7 separate regions of the Homo sapiens genome follow, and regions 1, 3, 4, 5, 6 and 7 are each linked to region 2. The links are contacts of gene promoters, found by promoter capture Hi-C in blood cells and fetal thymus (Javierre and others, 2016). All regions are on one chromosome and are shown on one strand. Each heading gives the region's core, a stretch centred on a gene start or on the middle of the fragment in contact. The rest is flanking DNA. Distances are from core to core; before and after follow the strand shown.

What was found. The method cuts DNA at HindIII sites, captures the fragments that hold promoters and counts their contacts. A CHiCAGO score of 5 or more calls a contact.
Region 1: a contact is called between a fragment that was not itself captured here and the fragment with the promoter of ANP32D in region 2, in 3 of 17 cell types (megakaryocytes, M0 macrophages and M1 macrophages). The highest score is 8.4, in megakaryocytes.
Region 3: a fragment that was not itself captured here is called in contact with the fragment with the promoter of ANP32D in region 2 in 3 of 17 cell types (M1 macrophages, M2 macrophages and M0 macrophages); the score reaches 6.5 in M1 macrophages.
Region 4: a contact is called between a fragment that was not itself captured here and the fragment with the promoter of ANP32D in region 2, in 2 of 17 cell types (M2 macrophages and total CD4 T cells). The highest score is 5.4, in M2 macrophages.
Region 5: a contact is called between a fragment that was not itself captured here and the fragment with the promoter of ANP32D in region 2, in 6 of 17 cell types (M1 macrophages, M2 macrophages, neutrophils and 3 more). The highest score is 7.9, in M1 macrophages.
Region 6: a fragment that was not itself captured here is called in contact with the fragment with the promoter of ANP32D in region 2 in 1 of 17 cell types (naive CD4 T cells); the score reaches 5.1 in naive CD4 T cells.
Region 7: a contact is called between a fragment that was not itself captured here and the fragment with the promoter of ANP32D in region 2, in 1 of 17 cell types (M1 macrophages). The highest score is 5.3, in M1 macrophages.

What each region holds. Positions count from the first base shown.
Region 1 is chr12:48,199,080-48,201,864 of GRCh38, reverse strand. The region is part of intron 1 of LOC102725258 (a long non-coding RNA gene); the gene reads right to left. Among named protein-coding and RNA genes, the nearest start is that of OR10AD1, 2.8 kb to the left of the region's middle. The HindIII fragment of the contact is 1,307 bases long and covers 666-1,972 here.
Region 2 is chr12:48,470,904-48,474,069 of GRCh38, reverse strand. ANP32D (acidic nuclear phosphoprotein 32 family member D) reads right to left here and starts at 1,511. Exons shown (of 1, transcript NM_012404.3): 1 at 448-1,511. The coding sequence starts at 1,405. The coding sequence ends at 1,010. It also overlaps a transcript of C12orf54 not described here. The HindIII fragment of the contact is 4,760 bases long and covers 1,204-3,166 here.
Region 3 is chr12:48,167,447-48,170,387 of GRCh38, reverse strand. It overlaps the pseudogene PHB1P18. Among named protein-coding and RNA genes, the nearest start is that of ASB8, 11 kb to the right of the region's middle. The HindIII fragment of the contact is 5,418 bases long and covers 1-2,941 here.
Region 4 is chr12:48,061,726-48,064,475 of GRCh38, reverse strand. It overlaps SENP1 (SUMO specific peptidase 1), which reads left to right. Exons shown (of 18, transcript NM_001267594.2): 13 at 635-766. Among named protein-coding and RNA genes, the nearest start is that of SENP1, 43 kb to the left of the region's middle. The HindIII fragment of the contact is 302 bases long and covers 1,217-1,518 here.
Region 5 is chr12:48,027,997-48,031,036 of GRCh38, reverse strand. It overlaps LOC105369750 (a long non-coding RNA gene), which reads right to left. Exons shown (of 4, transcript XR_944904.3): 3 at 1,119-1,266. Among named protein-coding and RNA genes, the nearest start is that of COL2A1, 25 kb to the right of the region's middle. The HindIII fragment of the contact is 727 bases long and covers 1,201-1,927 here.
Region 6 is chr12:48,087,790-48,090,658 of GRCh38, reverse strand. It overlaps SENP1 (SUMO specific peptidase 1), which reads left to right. Exons shown (of 18, transcript NM_001267594.2): 5 at 1,699-1,858. Among named protein-coding and RNA genes, the nearest start is that of SENP1, 17 kb to the left of the region's middle. The HindIII fragment of the contact is 6,046 bases long and covers 1-2,869 here.
Region 7 is chr12:48,147,279-48,150,132 of GRCh38, reverse strand. ASB8 (ankyrin repeat and SOCS box containing 8) reads left to right here. Exons shown (of 4, transcript NM_024095.5): 4 at 135-2,344. The coding sequence ends at 767. Among named protein-coding and RNA genes, the nearest start is that of ASB8, 8.8 kb to the left of the region's middle. The HindIII fragment of the contact is 2,542 bases long and covers 69-2,610 here.

The DNA of each region.
Region 1 (2,785 bases), core at 70-2,569, 270 kb after region 2:
CCTGTGAAAAGTAGGTAAAGAAGCAAGAAAAAAAGGGCTGGGCGCAGTGGCTCATGACTGTAATCTCAGCACTTTGGGAGGCTGAGGATGGAGTTTGAGACCTGCCTGGGCAACATAGGGAGACCCATCTCTACAAAAAATTTAAAAAATGAACTGGGTGTGGTGGCACATGCCTGTAGTCCCAGCTACTGAGGAGGCTGAGGTGGGAGGATTGCTTGAGCCTGGGAGGTTAAGGCTGCACGAGCAATGATAGCACTGCTGCACTCCAGCCTGAGCAACGCAGCAAGACCTTGTCTCATTAAAAAAAAAAAAAATGAAGAAGAAGAAGGAAGGAAGGAAGGGAGGGAAGGAGGGAGGGAGGGAAGGGAAGGGAAGAAAGAGGGAACTAGGGGTAAGTACTCACATAAGAAAAGTCAGTTAAAGAAAAAAAAAAGATCAGCACCCTGAACTTCATCTTCTTAGCTTCCACCAGTCATGGGGGGAGAATGATACTAAATGTCAACAGTGCACTCAATTTGTCTGTGTTGTGTGTTGTCGGGGACGGATGGGTGATAGAGGCCAGTGTGCCAAACCCCTTCTCCTAAATCCTCTAGCTTCCTTTAGCAACAGGACCGTCTGCATGATATTTCCCTTCCCATGCAAGTGGCAAGTGCCTCTACCAAGCTTCTCAGGTTACCTATTTCCTTCCCTGTTATCCATACCCCAAATTAACTCCCCTCTCCCCCTACTGCCTTCCTTTTTCTCTTCCATCTTTCATTTCATTCCACCTCAATCCTACTCCACCTTACCTCCTCATCTTACATGGATCCCTGTATTTTAAGGAACCCTTCTGCATACTACCTCTACCATTGCAGAAGTCTTTCAATTTGTAACCCTGCCCTCTGTGGCTTCCTCTAGCTTCTCACCTTAACCAAACACAGCTTTCTTTGAGAAGGTACTACATCCTCAGCAGTTCTCTTTCTTTGAAAATTGCATTTTTCTCATACCCCTTCATAATAAAACAAGGGGGTAGGCCTGTTCTTTATTTCGCAGTGCACTTCCATAATATGAATGGACCTCATTTGGGATGCTCTCAAATAGATGTACTGCCCTTTCCACTCCTGCGCATCACACACTACCCTTTGCAATGATGACTTAAAACAGTAGCTTCTGGCAGCACGTGGTGGCTCACACCTGTGATTCCAGCACTGTGGGAGGCCAAGGTGGGCAGATTACTTGAGGCCAGGAGCTCAAGACCAGCTTGGTCAACATGGTGAAACCCCGTCTCTAATAAAAATACAAAAATTAGCTGGGCGTGGTAGCGCATGCTTGTAATTCTAGCTACTTGAGAGGCTGAGGCAGGAGGATCACTTGAACCCAGGAGGCAGAGGCTGCAGTGAGCCATAATTACACCACTGCACTCCAGCCTGGGTGACAGAGTGAGACTCTATCTCAGGCAAAACAAAACAAAACAAAACAAAACAAAAACAGTAGCTTCACTCCACAAAACTCCAATCTTTTGAGTCCAAATTGATTTCTCCAGAAATCAGAGGATGTGAGAAGCTCTTCTTAACAAGGAGAAAGGAGAAACCACTGTAATTGGGAAGAAACGATAAATGCAGAACCTAAAATTTCCATTGTCAAAATTTGCATCAAAGTTAAACAGGCAAGAAAGACCTTAAGACTATTGCAATACGAGATTAAACTCAACACTACTCAAACAAGGGTCTGGGAAGTTTTTAAGAGCTGCTGTACGGGAAATCACATGACATCTGTGTTTGCTAACTGCAAAGGAAAAGGACACTTTCTTGTATCTTCAAAACAAGCTGTAGTTTTACAATTCCAAACAAGGCACCCACAGGAGGTTAGGCTCCCACCCTCCCACAGAGACTGAGAGATAGGGGTGCTATCTTCCTTGATGATTACATTTCAAAGGGATGGCTCACAGGTCCTTGAGAAAGACATTCCCTAGGTCGTAAAACTGGCATAAGCTTCTAAGGAGATTTATACACATTTCAAAGGAGCAGAGAAGAATTTTGCAATCACAAGTTTTCTAAAGTAAACACTCAAAGAAAGGGGAGGTCAGGGCCCTAACATCCAGAAGAAACCTGTCTAAAGTTGTCAGGCTGAGGTGAATGTTAAGGCTCTTTTGGTCACCACTGAGAACAACAACAAAAAGGTCCCAATCTTTCCCCCTAGGGTCTCAGCTTCTTCTCTAGGTTTGAAAATTCCTATCTCAAAGAGGAAAAAGTGAAGGAAAGGAAGAAAGGGAAAGGAGAAGAAAGACTGCTTTTAAAAAGTTTTCTAAGAAATCATTTCTTAGCTTTACATTTGCCCAGCACTGACAGACGCTGAGATTATAAACAAGACAGTTCCAGCTTTTGAGAATCTCAGTCTAGTAGGGCAGGCAAGAACAAATAATGGTAATAGAAAGGGCAAGCGTTATAAAAGGCCTACACAAAGTACTTTGGAAGCACATATGATAACATACTTATTAAGCACTTATATTGTAAGAGCTTTCCATTTAATCGTCACATAACCTTATGAGGTACTAGTATTATCTCAATGTTGAGATGCAAAAACTGAGGCTCATAGAGGTCAAATACTCAAAATCCACAGCATTTACAATGGCATAGAGGCCTGCGCCTATAATCCCATACACTCAGGAGGCTGAGGCGGGAGGATTGCTTGACCCCAGCCTGCAGTAAGCTATGATCCCGCCACTGCACTCTAGCCTGGGCGACACAGCGAGATCCCATCTCTAAAAAAAAAAAATTAAACTAAAGAAAAATAATAGAACAGCATA
Region 2 (3,166 bases), core at 262-2,761:
TAACTCACAAGACTGCCATTTTCAGCTCTCTGGCTCTTAAGCTCTCAAGAGTAACATCTGAGTCCTCTTTGTAGAAGGAAGCCCACCACGATCTGTGAAGGGGGAAAAGGGATGAGAGATGGGGAATGTCCCCAAACCAGTGCCAAAATACACCTTTAGGTTGCTATTTACAAACCAGGGTGTTGGATGCCTCTAGCAGTTCCGCGAAAAGCATGTGAATCAAAGCAAAAGCTATGGCTGGTGCTCAGACCCTTCTGGGTGTTGAGTAACCAAACTGAGACCAGCCGCGGACTTCCACCCAACCTGAGACTTGGAAAATACCAGGAAACATAAGAGAACTCCAAACCATCTTCTTTGAGAGCCAGGAACAAATGCTTAGTGTGTACTTAACTATTGCATTTACAGGGACAAAAACTGGACACAAGGAAAAAGTAGGGGGAAAAAATAAAGAGTGGCAGTAAAAATAGTATTTTATTCCACCCCCTCCTCCCCTCCCTTCCCTCACAACCCCCAGTACACTTTTCCTCTCTTGCTCCCACAGCAACGTTACAATCAGAAAAAAATAAGTTTCAGGGGGCAGGATTGGAGTGGGGGAGGGGATACGGCTAAAAACAGTAAAATCACAAAAGGAATTTTTCAAAATAGATTATTCCACTTAGGCATCGTCTTCTCCCTCATCTTCAGTTTCTTATTTTCGCTTCTGACCCCTTTCTTCTTCACCAAGCTCTTCTTCATCTTCCTCATCATCTACCTCTCCATTGTTATAACCTTCATCCTTCTCCTCCTCGTCTCCACTCACGTCCTCCTCTTCACGTTCCTCCTCCTCATCCTCGTCCTCCTCATCTTCCATTACCTGAGCATCTTCATCATACTCCTCCTCATCCTCATCCTCCTCCTTGTCATCCAGGCACTCCACAAAGCCCTCACCATCCGAGTTAGGGGCCTCCTTGTCATCCGGGTCACAGCCGTTGAGATATGTGAGTTGCAGGAGGAGCTTGAACATCTTTTCTCAGTAGTTGTTCAGGTTGGTTACCTCGCAAGTGAAAAGGTCTAAGCTCTCGAGGTTTTCTAACTTTTTCAGGGGCTCTATTGTGCTGAGGTCTTTAATTTTGTTGCCACTTAAATTTAGATGTATGAGGTTTGGACACTTTTCTGCCAATACTTCTAGGCCCACTGAGGCTCTGTTACTGCTTAGTTCAAGCTTCTTAAGTTTGTTTAACTTTGGCAAGTTTGCAATTGAGGTGAGGCCTATGTTGATTGTATTTAATAATTCCAGTTCTTCAAATTCATCTGTGAGGCCTTCCAATTTGCCTTCATTTGACTGACTGTTGTCCAGGAAAAGTTCTTTCACATCGGAGGGCGTCCTGTTCCGCAGCTCTAAATGAATCCATTTGCCCATCTCCATCTCTCACGCTTTCTCTGCAGAGGCTCCTGAGCCAGCGGAATTCAACCAATAAACCCCGAACCCACAACCGCACATTTGAAAGCTCAACCAGCTCTGCTGGGTTCTCCGAAAGTAAATTCTTAATTCCAAACACACCCAAAATCTATTATCTCCCATCACATTAAATTGTGCTATCATTCACCCAGTTGCTCCAAAACCTTAGAATAATGACTACTTCCTCTATTTTTCTATTTTACATCAGATAGATGTATTGGCTGTACCTTTACAGTGTATCCTAAATCTGATCACTTCTCATCATCTCTAGGCCACGCCATAGTATATATCTCACGGACTGTTGTCAAAGCCTCCTAACTAGATCATTCTTATCTTCCTGCAGCAGCCAGAATGCTCATTTTAAAATGCAGAAAACCCTAAAGACTCTGCCAAAAGGTTAATAGAGCTGATAAACAGTTTTAGTAAGATTTCAGGATACAAAATCAATATACAAAACTAGTAGCATTTCTATACACCAATAGTATTCAAGCTGAGAATAAATCAAGAACACAACCCCATTTACAATAGCCACAAAGAAAATGAAATACCTAGGAATACAGCTAACCAAGGAGAGGTGAAAAATTTCTACAAGGAGAACTACAAATCACTGCTCAAAGAAACCAGAGATGGCACAAATAAGTGGAAAAACATCCCATGTTCATGAATTGTAAGATCAATATTATTAAAACGGTCATATTCCCCAAAGTGGCTTACAGATTCAACACTATTTCTATCAAATTACCAATGTCATCCATCACAGAATTAGAAAAAAACTACTCTGAATTCACGTGGAACCAAAAAATAGCCTGAATAGCAAAAGTAGCCCCAAGTAAAAAGAACAAAGCCAGAGACATCACACTACCTGACTTCAAACTATCCTATAAAGCTATAGTAACCAAAACAGCATGGTATCGACACAAAAACAGACACATAGACAAATGGAACAGAATAGAAACTTCTGAAATAAAGCCTTACACTTAAAAATATCTGATCTTTGACAAGACCAAGAAAAACAAGCAATGGGGAAAGGACTTTCTTTTCAATAAATGGTGCTGGGATAACTGGCTAGCCATATGCAGAAGAATGAAACCAGACCCTTACCTTTCACCATACATAAAAACTAACTGAAGATGGATTAAAGTTTTAAATGCAAGACTTCAACCTATAAAAATCCTAGAAAATATGCCCCAAAGAAAGGAAATTAGTATATAGAAGAGATATCTGCACTCCTATGTTGGTTCCAGCACTGTTTACTAAGATTTGGAAGCAACCTAAATGTCCATCAGCAGATGGATGGATAAAGAAAATGTGGTGCATATACACAATGGAGTACTCGTCAGCCATAAAAATAATGAGATCCAGTCACTTGCAACAACATGAATGGAACTGGAGTTTATTATGTTAAGTGAAATAAGCCAGGCACAGAAAGACAAACATTGCATGTTCTCACTTATTTGTGGGATCTAAAAATCAAAACAATAGAACTCATGGAGGAGGGGCTGGGAAGTGTAGTGGGGGCTGTTGGGGGGAGATGAGGATGGTTAATGGGTACAAAAAAATAAAAAGAATGAATAAGACCTACTATTTGATAGCACAACAGGGTGACTATAATAAAAATAACTTAATTGTACATTTAAAAATAATTTAAAGAGTGTAATTGCATTATTTGTAACTTGAAAGATAAATGCTTCTGGGGATGGATACTCCATTATCCATGATGTGCTTATT
Region 3 (2,941 bases), core at 396-2,895, 300 kb after region 2:
CCCAGCTAATTTTTTGTATTTTTAGTAGAGATGGGGTTTCACCGTGGTCCCGATCTCCTGACCTCGTGATCCACCCGCCTTGGCCTCCTGAAGTGCTGGGATTACAAGGGTGAGCCACCGCACCAGGCCGTGTATATATTATTTCAAATTTGTACAGAAGTACTTTTAGTGTAGAGTCCCCAAAAATATCATTGCTGGGTTAAAGGACAGATTAATCCATTTGTAATTTTGCTAGATTGTACTAAATTCCCTTCCTTAAGGACTATATCACTCTATACTTCTACCAGTAGCATATCACTGTGTCTCTTTTCCCTAGAGTTTTAGCAACAAAGTGTACTCTCAAACTTTTGAATTTTTGCCAACATAATAAGAAATGCTGTTTCAATGTAATGTAATTTGCCTTTCTTTTTTCAGTGAGTTGTGCATGTTTTACTATTTTAAGGGCCACTTGCATGAATTGTTTCTATCTGTTCATGTCTTGTGCTCATTTTTCTACTGGATCTGTGTCTTTTTATTTCTCAGAGCTCCTGTAAATTAGGGAGATTACTTTTTATTCTGTTGTAAAAATTGCGATTGTTTTGTCCAGTGACTCATTTGTCTTTGGCTTTGCTTATGGTATTTGGGCTATACATTTTTAAAAAAACAATATATAATAGAATTGGGTGGCTGGGGAATTCATGTGTAGATCAGAGTGGAAGCAGGTGTGAGAGGGTCCAGCAGAAGAAAACATGGCAGCCAAAGTGTTTGAGTCCATCGGCAAGTTTGGCCCGGCCTTTGCTGTTGCAGGAGGCGTGGTGAACTCCGCCTTATATAATGTGTATGCTGGGCGGCAGAGCTGTCATCTTTGACCGATTCCGTGGAGTACAGGACATTGTGGTGGGGGAAGGGACTCACTTTCTCATCCCATGGGTACAGAAACCAATTATCTTTGACTGCCATTCTCCACCTCGTAATGTACCAGTCATCACTGGTAGCAAAGATTTACAGAATGTCAACATCACACTGCGCATCATCTTCCGGCCCATCGTTAGCCAGCTTCCTCGCATCTTCAGCATCGGAGACGACTATGATGAGCGTGTGCTGACGTCCACCACGACCAAGGTCCTCAAGTCAGTGGTGGCTAGCTTCGATGCTGGAGAAGTAATCACCCAGAGAGAGTTGGTCTCCAGGCAGGTGAACAACGACCTTACGGAGCGAGCAGCCACCTTAGGGCTCATCCTGGACGACGTGTCCTTGACACATCTGACCTTCGGGAAGGAATTCACAGAAGCGTTATAAGCCAAACAGGTGGCTCAGCAGGAAGCAGAGAGGGCCAGATCTGTGGTGGAAACGGCTGAGCAGCAGAAAAAGGCAGCCATCATCTCTGCTGAGGGCGACTCCAAAGCAGCCGAGCTGATTGCCAACTCACTGGCCACTGCAGGAGACGGCCTGAGTTGCCCAAGCTGGAAGCTGCGGAGGACATCGCGTAACAGCTCTCATGCTCTCGGAGCATGATCTACCTGCTGGCGGGGCAGACCGTGCTCCTCCGGCTGCTCCAGTGAGGGCCTGCCCACTCTGCCTGCACCTCCGCGGGCCAATTGAGCCACAGCCCCGATGATTCTTAACACCGCCGCCCACCCCCTCCACCCCAAAAATCACTGTGAAATTTCATGATTGGCTTAAAGTGAAGGAAATAAAGGTAAAATAACATATATATATACATATATATGTAATAGAATTGACTAGTCTTTTATTGATTCTGGGTTTTGAGACATAGGAATGCTTTGCCCGCTATTCCCAGGGATGCATGGGTAGTTTACACAGAAATCTACACGTGCCTTCTTCTAGACTTGAAGAGTTTCCATGTAGTCATGTTTAGCTAACGAAGCCACGTGGAGTTTTTCTTGGATGTGCAGTATAAGCTATGGATCCAATGTTACCTTCTTCCACATGGTACCCAGTTGTCTCAACAGCATATATTTTTAAAGTCCATTTTTCACATTGTTTTATAATGTCTAACATACATTAAATTTTTATATGTACTTAGATTGATGCCTAGACTTTCTACTATGTTCCATTAGTGTGTCTGTCTATATGCACCAATTTTATACTAGTTTGATTATGAAGGTTTTGTAATATCTTAAATGTCCGATAAGACTGGCCCCTCCTCATTGCTCTTCTTTTCAGGACTTTCTTGGATATTCTTGTTATTTCTTCCATATGAACTTAAGAATCAATTTGTATAACTAAAAAACAAAGTGAAACAAAAAAACCCTTGGCTTTTTTATTGGAATAATGTTAAATTTACAAATTCACTTAGAATGTCTTTCATTTTTTTCAGGTCTGTTTTATGTCTCTGAAGCTATTATATTAATAGTTTTCCTCATAGGCTTTACATATTTCTTTTACCTTTATACCTAGGAGTTTTGTAATTGTGGTCACTATTACCAATTGGCTCTTGATTCCATATTATTTTCTAACTGGTTCATCCTTGTATCTTACGTGTGAAGCCTGTTGACTTCTGTATATAGCTTTTATATTCTGCTACCATATAGATTCATCTTTTTGTTTGTGTAGTTTATTCATTGATTTGCTTTTGTTATCTAGGTATACCTATATCATCAACAGTTTTCACACATCCAATAGGTTTCTTTTGTAAAAATGCATTGGCAAATACCTCCAACATCGTGTTAATGTTACAGTAATGGTGGGTATCCTTGTCTTGTTTCAGACATTAACAGGAATGCCTCCAGTGTTTTCCTATGAAAATAGTAAGATGATGATAAACAAGATGCTGTATGATGTTAAGAAAATTATCTCCCATTCTTCTTTTGTAACTTACTTTTATAGGAAATTCAACTTTAATTTTTTCAAATGCTTTTTCAGCACCTAGGAAGATAATTACAGGACTTTCCTTCTTAGATATAATTATATTAATTATATTAATGAATTTCCTAACATT
Region 4 (2,750 bases), core at 118-2,617, 410 kb after region 2:
AGTTTGACCTCAAATTGTAAGCTGAGATTTGCTCTTTTTTTAAGTAATAAAACCCATTATAGAAAATTTGGAAAATACATGGAGGTCTGTGTACATTTTTAGATAATCCGTTTCTTTATCCATACTTCTCTTTGAAACACTACCATGTAGCTGGTGAGCATAACACACTTATTATAGTTGTACTGAATTCCATACTTTACATTTAAAAAAAAAGATCTCTAAGAAAGTAATTTCTAAAAGATACTGCCTTTACTCTCTTACTACCTTTTATGAAAAATTCTGTTTCTCAGGAAGTCATTTGGACCAGAGATATAAAATACAGTTAATTTTTCTCATGTGCTTAGAAAATTTGATAGCGGAAGGTTGTTCCAGACTTTAGGAATTAATATGGAAACAAGGATCTGAATGTTGTGCTGAAAAAGAGAAGGGAGGACTAGATGAAGTGGAAAGAAGTAATCGGGGATTACTGGGAAGGAATAGAAACCAAAATGTTAGAAGTAAACTGATTAACAGTAAATTTATAAACAATCGAATGGTGATAAATATAGTCTGAGGATTATATGGGGTTTGGTGAGAAATACGGTTTTTCTGAAGCCACGCGTGTTTGATGTCTTGACACCTTTTGTTTTCTTAGGAAATGGAGAAAGAAATAAAGAATGTATTTCGTAATGGGAATCAGGATGAAGTTCTCAGTGAAGCATTTCGCCTGACCATTACACGCAAAGATATTCAAACTCTAAACCATCTGAATTGGCTCAATGATGAGGTAATGTTGCATCTATTTTTACATACAAATAGTAAACATTAAGTGGCAGTTAAATTAAGGCATTATCTCACTTTTTCTCAAAATGTGGTCCATGGATGACCTGCATTGGAATCATCTCTCATAGGCCTCTTCATTCTTGTAACTATGAGGGAGTGTGGTGGAGACAGGCATTTTTAACAAACATCTCAGGTGTATTTTAAAGTCTGAGAACCACTGAATTTACCTTTTCTTGTTGAAGATTTGAACATTGAAGAAGACATTCACTCATTGGTATTCTCACTCTTTAAGGCTCCTATTCTGCAGTTCATCTCTTCTGAACAAATAAGTATTAGCCGACCATGTTGCAGCATGAGGGAATACTGTGGGATTTCTTTATAGGAATCCAGTTTTACTTCCCTTTCTACCTAAGTTCTACTCATTTTAGATCACTTATATTACGAATGACAAGCTTTCCAAAATCGCCTCCATTTATGTATGATATTTTTTAAATGGACATTGAAAAAGTTATATTATTATTAAATATTTGAGGTATTGGGGGAGAAGTTACGGTCTTCACCTCCTAACTCCAATTTATTTTAAGTATATTAATTACACTACAGTTTTTAAACTGATCTGTTCCTAAGCCTAAACCTGTAGGTACCTGTTTTATTTTAGAAGGTTATTTTTACAGCAAAAGAAAACTGGGTTGGGTATCTTTTCCTAAGTACCTTCTTTGCATAAGCATCCCTGGCTAATCTGGGTATACTCAAGCTTCACAGCTGTGGAGGATTTTTAGTTTCTCAGTGTAGTAATCATTAAATATTTTAGATATCCATATCCTGTTTTTGTATGATCAAGACCTTCCAAATAATATTTGCCAATAACTATTGATCATTTACCTCATTAGTACGATTCATGTTTTATGTGTTTTATTCTTGTAATAGTCATCATATCTTTGGAAGTAGATATGATAGTTCACCATTCTGCAGATAAAGAAACAAGGCATAGAAAGATTTAAAAACTTGCAAGGTTATACAGCTAGTAAACAGCAGAGCCAAGATTAAGACCCAAGCATTGGGTCTTATCTACTATATCTTAACTACCTCAGAATCTTAAATTGGATACTGGTCTTAGGATCAGATATATAGAACTTAGGAGCCATATATCATGTCCAGGATGCTTTTTTTCTCTGGGGCCAGCCCCATTCTTTTTGCCACTGGTTGGTTTATAAGATAAAAATTTCAGAAGCTCATCACTCCCTGAATAATATCTGTGACCAAGAATAATAAGGAAGGCATGGTTTGTTACTGTCTTTCTTTAGAAGAAACCCTCTTTGCCTCTTTTGGCTCAGATATTAGAACATTGGTTCAAATAATGGAAAAAAAGAGCTCACCAAATCAAAGGAGGAAATTAAATCAAGGATAGTTATAAGTATCCACTGATAAGTTATTTTTGATCTGTGGTCCTTTGCCATTTATTTCCTGCCATTGCTGGTGGTGCGAGGTCAGTTACTCTAAAGGGATAGTAGGCTTTAGTTTGTTGTAAATCATGGAAAACCTCCTAGAGGGCAGCAATCAGTAGGATATGAGCTGAGTTCTTGCTATTTACTGTGGCATTTACCTCAGTGAGATTCCTTACAGAGACAGCATTCATCAGGACATATTTTCCATTCCCTGGGCCCATCAGAGGCTGGATTTTTAGCAAGCTAAGTTAATGGAAATTACATTATTTTAGAGGAGATGAGAAGAAGGAAAGATTCTTTGTCTACTTTATCCCTACCACCCCTAGCCATAACTTTTGTAGAAGGAGTGCATTTCTTCTCAGTTCAGAATGATGTTATCCTTGAAAATGAGTGCCAGTTCACATGTCCATAATAATGATGGGAGCTATCTTAAAAAGCACCATTTTCAAAGTACCATACTTCGTAGGCTTTCAAAGTTACTGCCCTTGAGAAGCTAACATCCTGATGGAGTATTATTAGGTATCCTTAAGTATTGATACTCAT
Region 5 (3,040 bases), core at 315-2,814, 440 kb after region 2:
GTCCCAGGTCATTCTTGGGCAGCCTCTGCCATTAGATTGGAGAGAAGGCCCAGCACTCTGGGTCTACACAGACTCTGAATATAGAGACCTGGATTCATGTTCTGTTGCCTAAGAGCTATTAATACACGATGGTGAGCATGTTACTAACCTGTTTAAGCCTCAGTTTCCTCTACTGTGAAAACAGAGGTAATAGGAGTTTCCTATGTTGGTTCATTCTCCGTATGGCTCACCCATGATCCTAAGATGGCTACCTAGAGAAATATGGCTAAAGGAATGGGTCATTCCCTCTTGTCTTGCTGGCACCATACAACTTGGAGAACCTGTTCAGATATGCTTCCATAGATCTGCTCAACAGCCCCGGGAGGTAGACAGGGAGGTTTACTATTTATGGTTTACAGATAAGAGAACCAGGCTGGGAAATTCTAAGTGGTTTGTACAAGATCACCCAGCTAAAAAGCAGGAGAACTGGGACTTGAATCCAGGCCTCCTGAATTTGGTGACAGTGCAGACTTGCTCCGTGCCATCAGGCCTGGCTCCTGGGAAGGAACACTTTGAGAAGCCTTAGTGGGGCTTGGTCTCATGCCTCACCCAGGGCCTGGCCATAGTGGGTGCTCGGGGGACCTTTGTCTTTTCTGCCACAGCCTGAGCCAGAGTGGAAGCTGGGCTGTGCAGCAGAGCAGGAACCCAGCAGGTGGCAGGGACAGCCTGGCTGTGCCTGCTTTCTCCCTTGGTGGTGGGGACCACATGCTAAGCTACGTCTGTAAACATGGCCACAGCCTCTTTCTGATCCCTTGAGCTCTGTGTCTCTGCATACACGTCTCTTGGTTTTCTTTCTCCTTTGACTTCACTCTCCTCCCCACTCTCCCCATGCCCCTCCTCTGTCCTGGATTTGATCTTCTGTCTCCTGGCCTCCTTGTCTCTCTCAACATCCAGTGTTTTTTTCTCTTGTTGACTTCCTCTTTCCCTCTCTCTCCCTCAGTTCCTCCTTTGGATCTTCCTGGGTCGAGCAGACAAGTGAGAGGCTTCTGCCGTGCTCAGGGCAAGAGGCTGCTGAGCTGCCCTTCCGTCCCCTCCTCCCTCCCCACACATCCCTCTCCCTTGCCCTGGCCCCTCATCACCTTGGCTGGCTCCTCCTTGATGCATGGGCTGAGGCGAAGGTACAGGGAGGCAGTTAGAGCAGCTTCCCTGGATACAAAAGCTTCTTTCTACCCCTTGGAGATGAGGTTTCCAGGCAGGTTATTTTTATAGCAGGGCTCAGGCAGGATTCTTCAGAGAAAATAAACAAAGTCATACACACCAGTCCTTCACACCCTTCAGCCCCTTCCCTGGAGAGGGGCCCAGCCTAGCTGTGCCGACACAGGGACGCCCACCACCCCAGAGGGGCTGTGGGGGCTGCTGCCGGGATATCAAGAGGCCAGGGGTCTGGGATGGGGGAGGGGGCGCCAAGGAGGGAGACTGACACAGGTCCCCTGCAGCCCCAGTCAGGCCAGGAGGAGATGGCTGGAACCTTGGGGTCCCTGCCTCACCACTGGGGCCAGAGTCTTGGGTCCGGCATCTGTAGGGGAGAGTCAGATTCAAATGCAGGCGTAACCCAAATTTTCTAAATGCTTACCAAGTGCCAGGCACTGTGCTTGCAATTTACAAACACATTTTACTTATTCCTCATCACTGAATTCACTGAATTCAGTAGAAGTCATTTCTACAAGTTGCCACTTAGTATTGGCCTCTATGTGCCTGGCACTCTGTTAGGTGCTAGGGAGACAAGATTAAATGACACATGGAGAGAGAGAGAGCTCAGAGAGCTTTCCAGCTGGTGAGACATTGATTGAATCCCTTACTATGAAGATTTCAAGGTGGATATTTTTATGCTCATTTTGCAGATGAGAAAAGAGACTTAGTGAGGTCAAGTGACTTGTCCAGGGAAGCTTGGACCTTTGATGTCAAGGGCATAAGGGATCAGGGACTCAGAGATCTCTTGGGGCAGGTTTCTTGGGGGTAGAAATGTCAGCTAAGAGGGTGTAGAGGGCAAGAAGCCTGAGATGGGATAGGAGAACAAGGTACAAATCCACGTGCAGTTTTCCTGGGGTCTTGGGCCATTCCAGACCTAGGGTGGAGCACACGTGGTCCCTCATTCTTGAGGGCAGGCAGTCAACAATATCTTGTCTAACAGATCCCAGAAAGGAAGGCCTTTCATAACCAGATTGGCTGCAGTCTTCTCAAAGCTCTTTTATGAGGAAGCCTCAGGTTAAAAAAAACTTCATAAATCATGTGCATTCCCCGTCAGGCATGACAAAAATACATGACCCTTGTGGGTCCCTGCCCAGTGAAGGCAAACAGCTCACTGAGGCAACGCTGGGAGTGCACACAGGCCTGCCACTGTCCTCCACCTCCCTCAGCCGAGCATGTTCCCCAGCTCAGGGCAGCCCCCATCATCCTTGACAGGCCAGGGAATTCCAGATACCAGACAATCATTCTAATGACCCTTCAGGAGTGAGTTTCAGTGTGCTGCCTTAGCCTCCACAGGCATTCGGCCTTTTTTTTTTTTCTTTTGAGGTGGAGTCTCGCTCTGTCACCAGGCTGGAGTGCAGTGGCGCGATCTCGGCTCACCGCAACCTCTGCCTCCCGGGTTCAAGCAATTCTCCTGCCTCAGCCTCCTGAGTACCTGGGACTACAGGCACACGTCACCACGCCCAGCTAATTTTTGTATTTTTAGTAGAGACGGGGTTTCACCATGTTGCCCAGGATGGTCTCCATCTCTTGACCTCATGATCTGCTTGCCTCAGCTTCCCAAAGTGCTGGGATTACAGGCGTGAGCCACCACGCCCGGCCTCATTCAGCCTTTTTATGACTAATTCTGGAATGAAGGAATGTGTCTGTTTCAGAAGTTCCAAGTATCAATAGGTAGAGTTCTAGTGAATTCCCAGAGTCTGGGGAGCCCCAAAATAACATATTCTAGTGTCTACGTTTGCTTGTCTTTAAAAGGGAGCTAATAATACTCACGTCTTGGGGTACGAAGAGTTTGCAGACAGGCAGTGCCGAG
Region 6 (2,869 bases), core at 353-2,852, 380 kb after region 2:
TGCCACTACACTCCAGCCTGGGCAACAGAGTGAGACCCTGCCTCAAAAACAAACAAACAAAAACAGTATCTGTAGTTTCCTCTTGGTCTGTCTCTAGCTTTGTTTGATCCCATCAGCAATAGAACACCATTCAGCAATTTCATTGGGATTGGAACCACCTTTTTCTGTTTAAACAGACTGCCTGATCTTCTGCTTTTCCCCTTGCATTTTAAAGCTGCAGTCTCTGTCACATGCCGTTGAGAATGCTACTCTGACTTATCCTTGGTCTCAAATTTCACACCTGTTAGGGTAATTTGCATTTTTGACAGACCGATGCCTCAGATAGATATCTGTATTTAGATCATGCCCTAATCAAATTTTAGCCAAAATGTGTGAGAGACAAATATTTCTACTGTTACAACTTTAAACTTAAGTATAATAATTTTCTAGTTCTTTACTAAGACTCATTTTCATTAGCATCATGTTTCTATCCTCAAAATTATAGTAATAGATGCTAAGCATAGATACTGATTACAAAGGAACAAAGTTACAATTCATTTTGAAAGTAAATTAGCTTATTTTAATTATCAGACTAAGGTCACCAACTGTTGAATTAACAAGTGCTAATACCAGCCATGACTTCTTCTTTTTTCCTATTTACCCTAAATCCTGACATCTTGATTAGCTTACAGAAGCACAAAATTATATTTTGGAAGGCTGCCTATTTGGATAGAGCATGAAAAGATACATTAAATACTTTTAATAGCATAAATTTACAATATTGCGAAAAGTTCTATAGTAATATGTTTTAAAAGAATATCTTCAAAATAATGTCAGCATTAGAAAAAAATTCCAGAAATAGAGAATTATTATTCTTGTGTTTTCACTGGAGCTCCTTAGAGTTCCATAACTTAATGTCTGAAGTTATTTTGAGGGAGCTGTTTTAAATTGTCCAATTCTGCAGATAGGGAGAGGAGGTTATAGAAATTATTCTACCACTCCTAGCTGAAACTTCAGGAGGTTTTTGATATGCCAGATTGTAATCCACAAGTTAGAAAATTCAAATAATAAGTAATTCTCAGTTAATCTGATTGTAGTAGCAAACATTGGAGTAATAATATGTTTGATTATGGCATTAGATGACTGAAGATTATTATACCAGAACCAGATATATATGATGGGTCATTCCTTGCCATAAGCCAACCAGAATAAGCAGCAATTAGGTTATCTCTGCTCTTTGAGAGAGTACCTGAGTCTTGAACATGGTAACTAAAACGAAGAAAGTGACACTAGCTGCTTAGTAATCAATAACTGTTGTTCATTTGAATTACAATTCTCACTGGCCCCCCACCTGCTTTCTTACTGGTCTGGCCTACCTTCTTTCAGGCCCAGGCCTGGGAGTGCTTGCAAGATATAGTTGGGGTAAAATGTTGACTTTTGGTGGACACCACGGAGTCACATTGATGCAGATAAGGCACATGGCTGTGGCAGGATTCAGCTCCTTCATCAATTTTCAGGTTAGTATGGCTGAATCAATTATAGTTTGTAGAAGTTCCCCTACTGCAGACTTTACTGGCAGTTGAGACTGGGATCTTTCTTCCATGAGAGAAATGGTGACATGCCACATTACTTTGGAATACAATGGTTGGTCATGGTTGCAGTCATAAGGAGAACCACCTGTAGAATTTGTTTAATTTATTCAAACTTTTATTTTTTTAGATAATCCTTCCTCAGACAGTTTTCTTGGCTCAGGCGATTTAAGAACCTTTGGCCAGAGTGCAAATGGCCAATGGAGAAATTCTACCCCATCGTCAAGCTCATCTTTACAAAAATCAAGAAACAGCCGAAGTCTTTACCTCGAAACCCGAAAGACCTCAAGGTTCGTATTTTGTCATCTTAGTTCTCAAGCCCTTCCTCAGACATAAGAGAAAGTGACTAAAAGGTAGATAGTTATTACATTGGGATTTTAAAAGAGTAACACCATTTTTGGACTTTAAACCTTAAGGATATGAACAAATCCATTTTACATTTTCAACTTCTCATTTACTTAGTGCTGAATTTTGATGATAGCCAGATCTTACTAGAAGAGAGAATTTTAAGTAAATCTTGGTGGATATGAGAATATTGGGAGCCTTCAAGATCAATATGGCTCTTGCAAATCTTAAAGTGAAAATCAGTCAATCTCCACAATTTGAGCAGGAAAGAAACATATTTTACAGCTATCAAGTGAGCAGAGACCTGACTTAAACTAAAGCAGTTCTCTACCTCATGGCATTAGTCAAGTAGACCAAGCTACTTCTATATATTAGAAAATAAAGAGTCACAGACCGGGCACGGTGACTCGTGCCTGTAATCTTAGCAATTTGGGAGGCTGAAGCAGGTGGATCACCTGAGGTCAGGAGTTCCAGACTAGCCTGGCCAACATGGTGAAACCCTGTCTCCACTAAAAATACAAAAAAATTAGCCAGGCATGGTGGTGTGTGCCTGTAGTCCCAGCTACTTGAGAGGCTGAGGCAGGAGAATCACTTGAACCTGGGAGGCAGAGGTTGCAGTGAGCTGAGATCATGCTGCTATAGCTCCAGCCTGGGTGACAGAGTGACCTCGTCTCAGAAAAAAAAAAAAAGATAGTCACAGAGAACTTTATGCTAGTTATTCCAACTTTATAAGCTCTATCTAACAAAACTTACATGGATTATTAAAGGCAGATGAAATCTGGCTTAGAAACTTTTCCCTCAGATATTTTGTTATATTAGTATTTATTATATTAGTAAACATTTCTTTTTTAAAATAGTATTTATGACTACTTAAATTCTGCCCTGGTATATTTTAGGAATGTGGGATTATTTAGTGTACTGTTTAGTCAAGTTTGAGCTTTATGGTGTTGATAGAA
Region 7 (2,854 bases), core at 90-2,589, 320 kb after region 2:
GGGAGTTGCTTGCTGACCCTCCTGTTCAGAGCACTGCATAGCAAAGGTAGTGGGTAACCATGCAAGCTTCTTTGCTGCTGTCCTGTCTTCCTCTCAGTAGTCTGTCTACTGTAATAGTTCCTCCCTTTTTACAGGTGAATGCCCTGGATGGGTATAACCGAACAGCCCTCCACTATGCAGCAGAGAAAGATGAGGCTTGTGTGGAGGTCCTATTGGAGTATGGTGCAAACCCCAATGCTTTGGATGGCAACAGAGATACCCCACTTCACTGGGCAGCCTTTAAGAACAATGCTGAGTGTGTGCGGGCTCTCCTAGAGAGCGGGGCCTCTGTCAATGCCCTGGATTACAACAATGATACACCGCTCAGCTGGGCTGCCATGAAGGGAAATCTTGAGAGTGTCAGCATCCTTCTGGATTATGGCGCAGAGGTCAGAGTCATCAACCTAATAGGCCAGACACCCATCTCCCGCCTGGTGGCTCTGCTAGTCAGGGGACTTGGAACAGAGAAAGAGGACTCTTGCTTTGAGCTCCTCCACAGAGCTGTTGGACACTTTGAATTGAGGAAAAATGGCACCATGCCACGAGAGGTGGCCAGAGACCCGCAGCTATGTGAAAAACTGACTGTTCTGTGCTCAGCTCCAGGAACTCTAAAAACACTCGCTCGCTATGCCGTGCGCCGTAGCCTGGGACTCCAGTATCTCCCCGATGCAGTGAAGGGCCTTCCACTGCCAGCTTCTTTGAAGGAATACCTGTTACTTTTAGAATAGCCGGAGAAGATGTTTGCACCATCGTGCAGGCAGCTCTGGGTGAGGTTGTCCCTGCAGTACTCCTTGTCACAGAAAACAGAAAAACAGTTGTTCCTGTTGTGTGGTTTATAGATTTCGAAGCAACATGTCACAACAATAACCTCCATAGCACCTCCCCTTCCCAAACCAAACAACCCAACAAAAAAAATCCCTCACTTTTGTTTTCTGTTTATTGCTTACCTGGCTTTTTATATTGCATTTTGCAAAAGAAGAGGTCTCCCTCAATCCTCCCCTTTAGGGAAGGAGTCAACAGTGTAACTAAATTTCTCTAGGAAGATGGAAAGTACTTAAATAATGTGTGTGTGGTTTTCCTTTGGGGACGTGGTTAACGGTCCAGAAGAATCCCTTCTAGAAAGCATTTTAGGCCAGCCATGGTGGCTCACGTCTGTAATCCCAGGACTTTGGGAGGCTGAGGCAGGTGGATCACCTGAGGTCAGGAGTTCGAGCCCAGCCTGACCAATATGATGAAACCCCGTCTCTACTAAAAATACAAAAATTAGCTGGGCATGGTGGCATGCGCCTGTAATCCCAGCTACTCAGGAGGCTGAGACAGAAGAATCGCTTGAACCTGTGAGGCAGAGGTTGCAGTGAGCCAAGATCGCGCCATTGCACTCCAGCCTGGACAACAAGAGCAAAACTGTCTCAAAAAAAAAAAAAAAAAAAAAAAACCATTTTAATTGATCTGTGAAAAAACTTAAGAAAATCACAATTTCAGCTAACAGCAATTGTGTCCCAAAGATGAAGATACTATAACCTCAAATGGTGCAGATCCAGAACTGGGCTGGATGACATCCCTACTGTGCCATGTCCTGGGGCATTTGGAAGGGACTGGACCTCTTTCCCCTCATCAAAGGAAACAGCAGTCTTTGCCTCTTTCTGTTGGTTGTGCCCAAGGGCTACAGTAGCTCTGAAATAACAAGAGCTCTGTAATAACAGTAATAAATAGCTCTGAAATAACAGTCCTAAGAACTCCTAAAGTCCTGAGAACTTTTCTTGTAATGCAGCTTTTTCTCTTCCTGAGAAACAGTGTGTTCTAATGGGATTCCCAGGCAGTTCCTACACCTACGGTGTGTGTTCCAGCAGGGAGGAGTTATGGGCTGGGCTGCCTTTTCCCATGGGTCTTCATTCCCAATGGAAAGTTCACTCTGCTTAGTTTGGAATTATTTTTCTTTCAGTTGTTCTGGAACCTTTGCTTTTTATTGATTTATACAATACAATTGGTGGGAGGGTGGACTTGGGATGGGAGTGGGAAAAGCATGTAAGAGCTCCTTTTGTGATGGTCCATCTACCCAAAAGAGATCTGCTTTAGTGAACGATACTCTTTCATTTTTCTAAATTAGATCAAGTTGTTATTGATTTTAGATGACTTGTATGCAAATTTGAAAAACTTTTTTTTTTAAAGCTGATTGGGAACTACAAACAATGAATGGAATCTACTGACACAGCTAATTGGAAAACAGATGTCTTCTTCTGTCCTATTGATGCTGGTGTTTAAAAAACATCACTTAAAAAAAAAGAATAAATAGTTCTAAAAGCAAGTTTGGCAATTTCTACTTTTCCTACTTTTCTCCAACCCCCCTTAGAAAAAGTTCTTCGTTTACTGCCTGGCTGTTCTATGTAACTTTCCATCCCAACCTTTCTCCCATTAGCAGCAGTGATTCTGGGCATTGCTGGAGTGAACAGGAGGGCTTGGGCAGAGTATCTGAAGAGCTTCCCCTTCCTTTATACCTTCTCCCACCCCAAATTTGGAATTACTGCTTTTATGTTCTCAACTCCAGCTGCACATAAAATCACTAAGGAAGCTTTTTAAAAACACTGGTGCCAAGATTTCACCTCATACCAATTCTTTGGAATTTTCTGGGGTAGGACTGGGGGCTTCAGTGCTTCAAATATAGCCAGGAATGAGATTCCACTGTGTTAGTCAGTGGTTCTCAATCCTAGTTATTAATTAGAACCACCTAGGAAAATTTTTAAAAATACTAAAGCCCAGGCTCCACCCCCAGAGATTGATTTAATTGGTCCAAAGCAGACCTAGTAGGGCTGGCCAC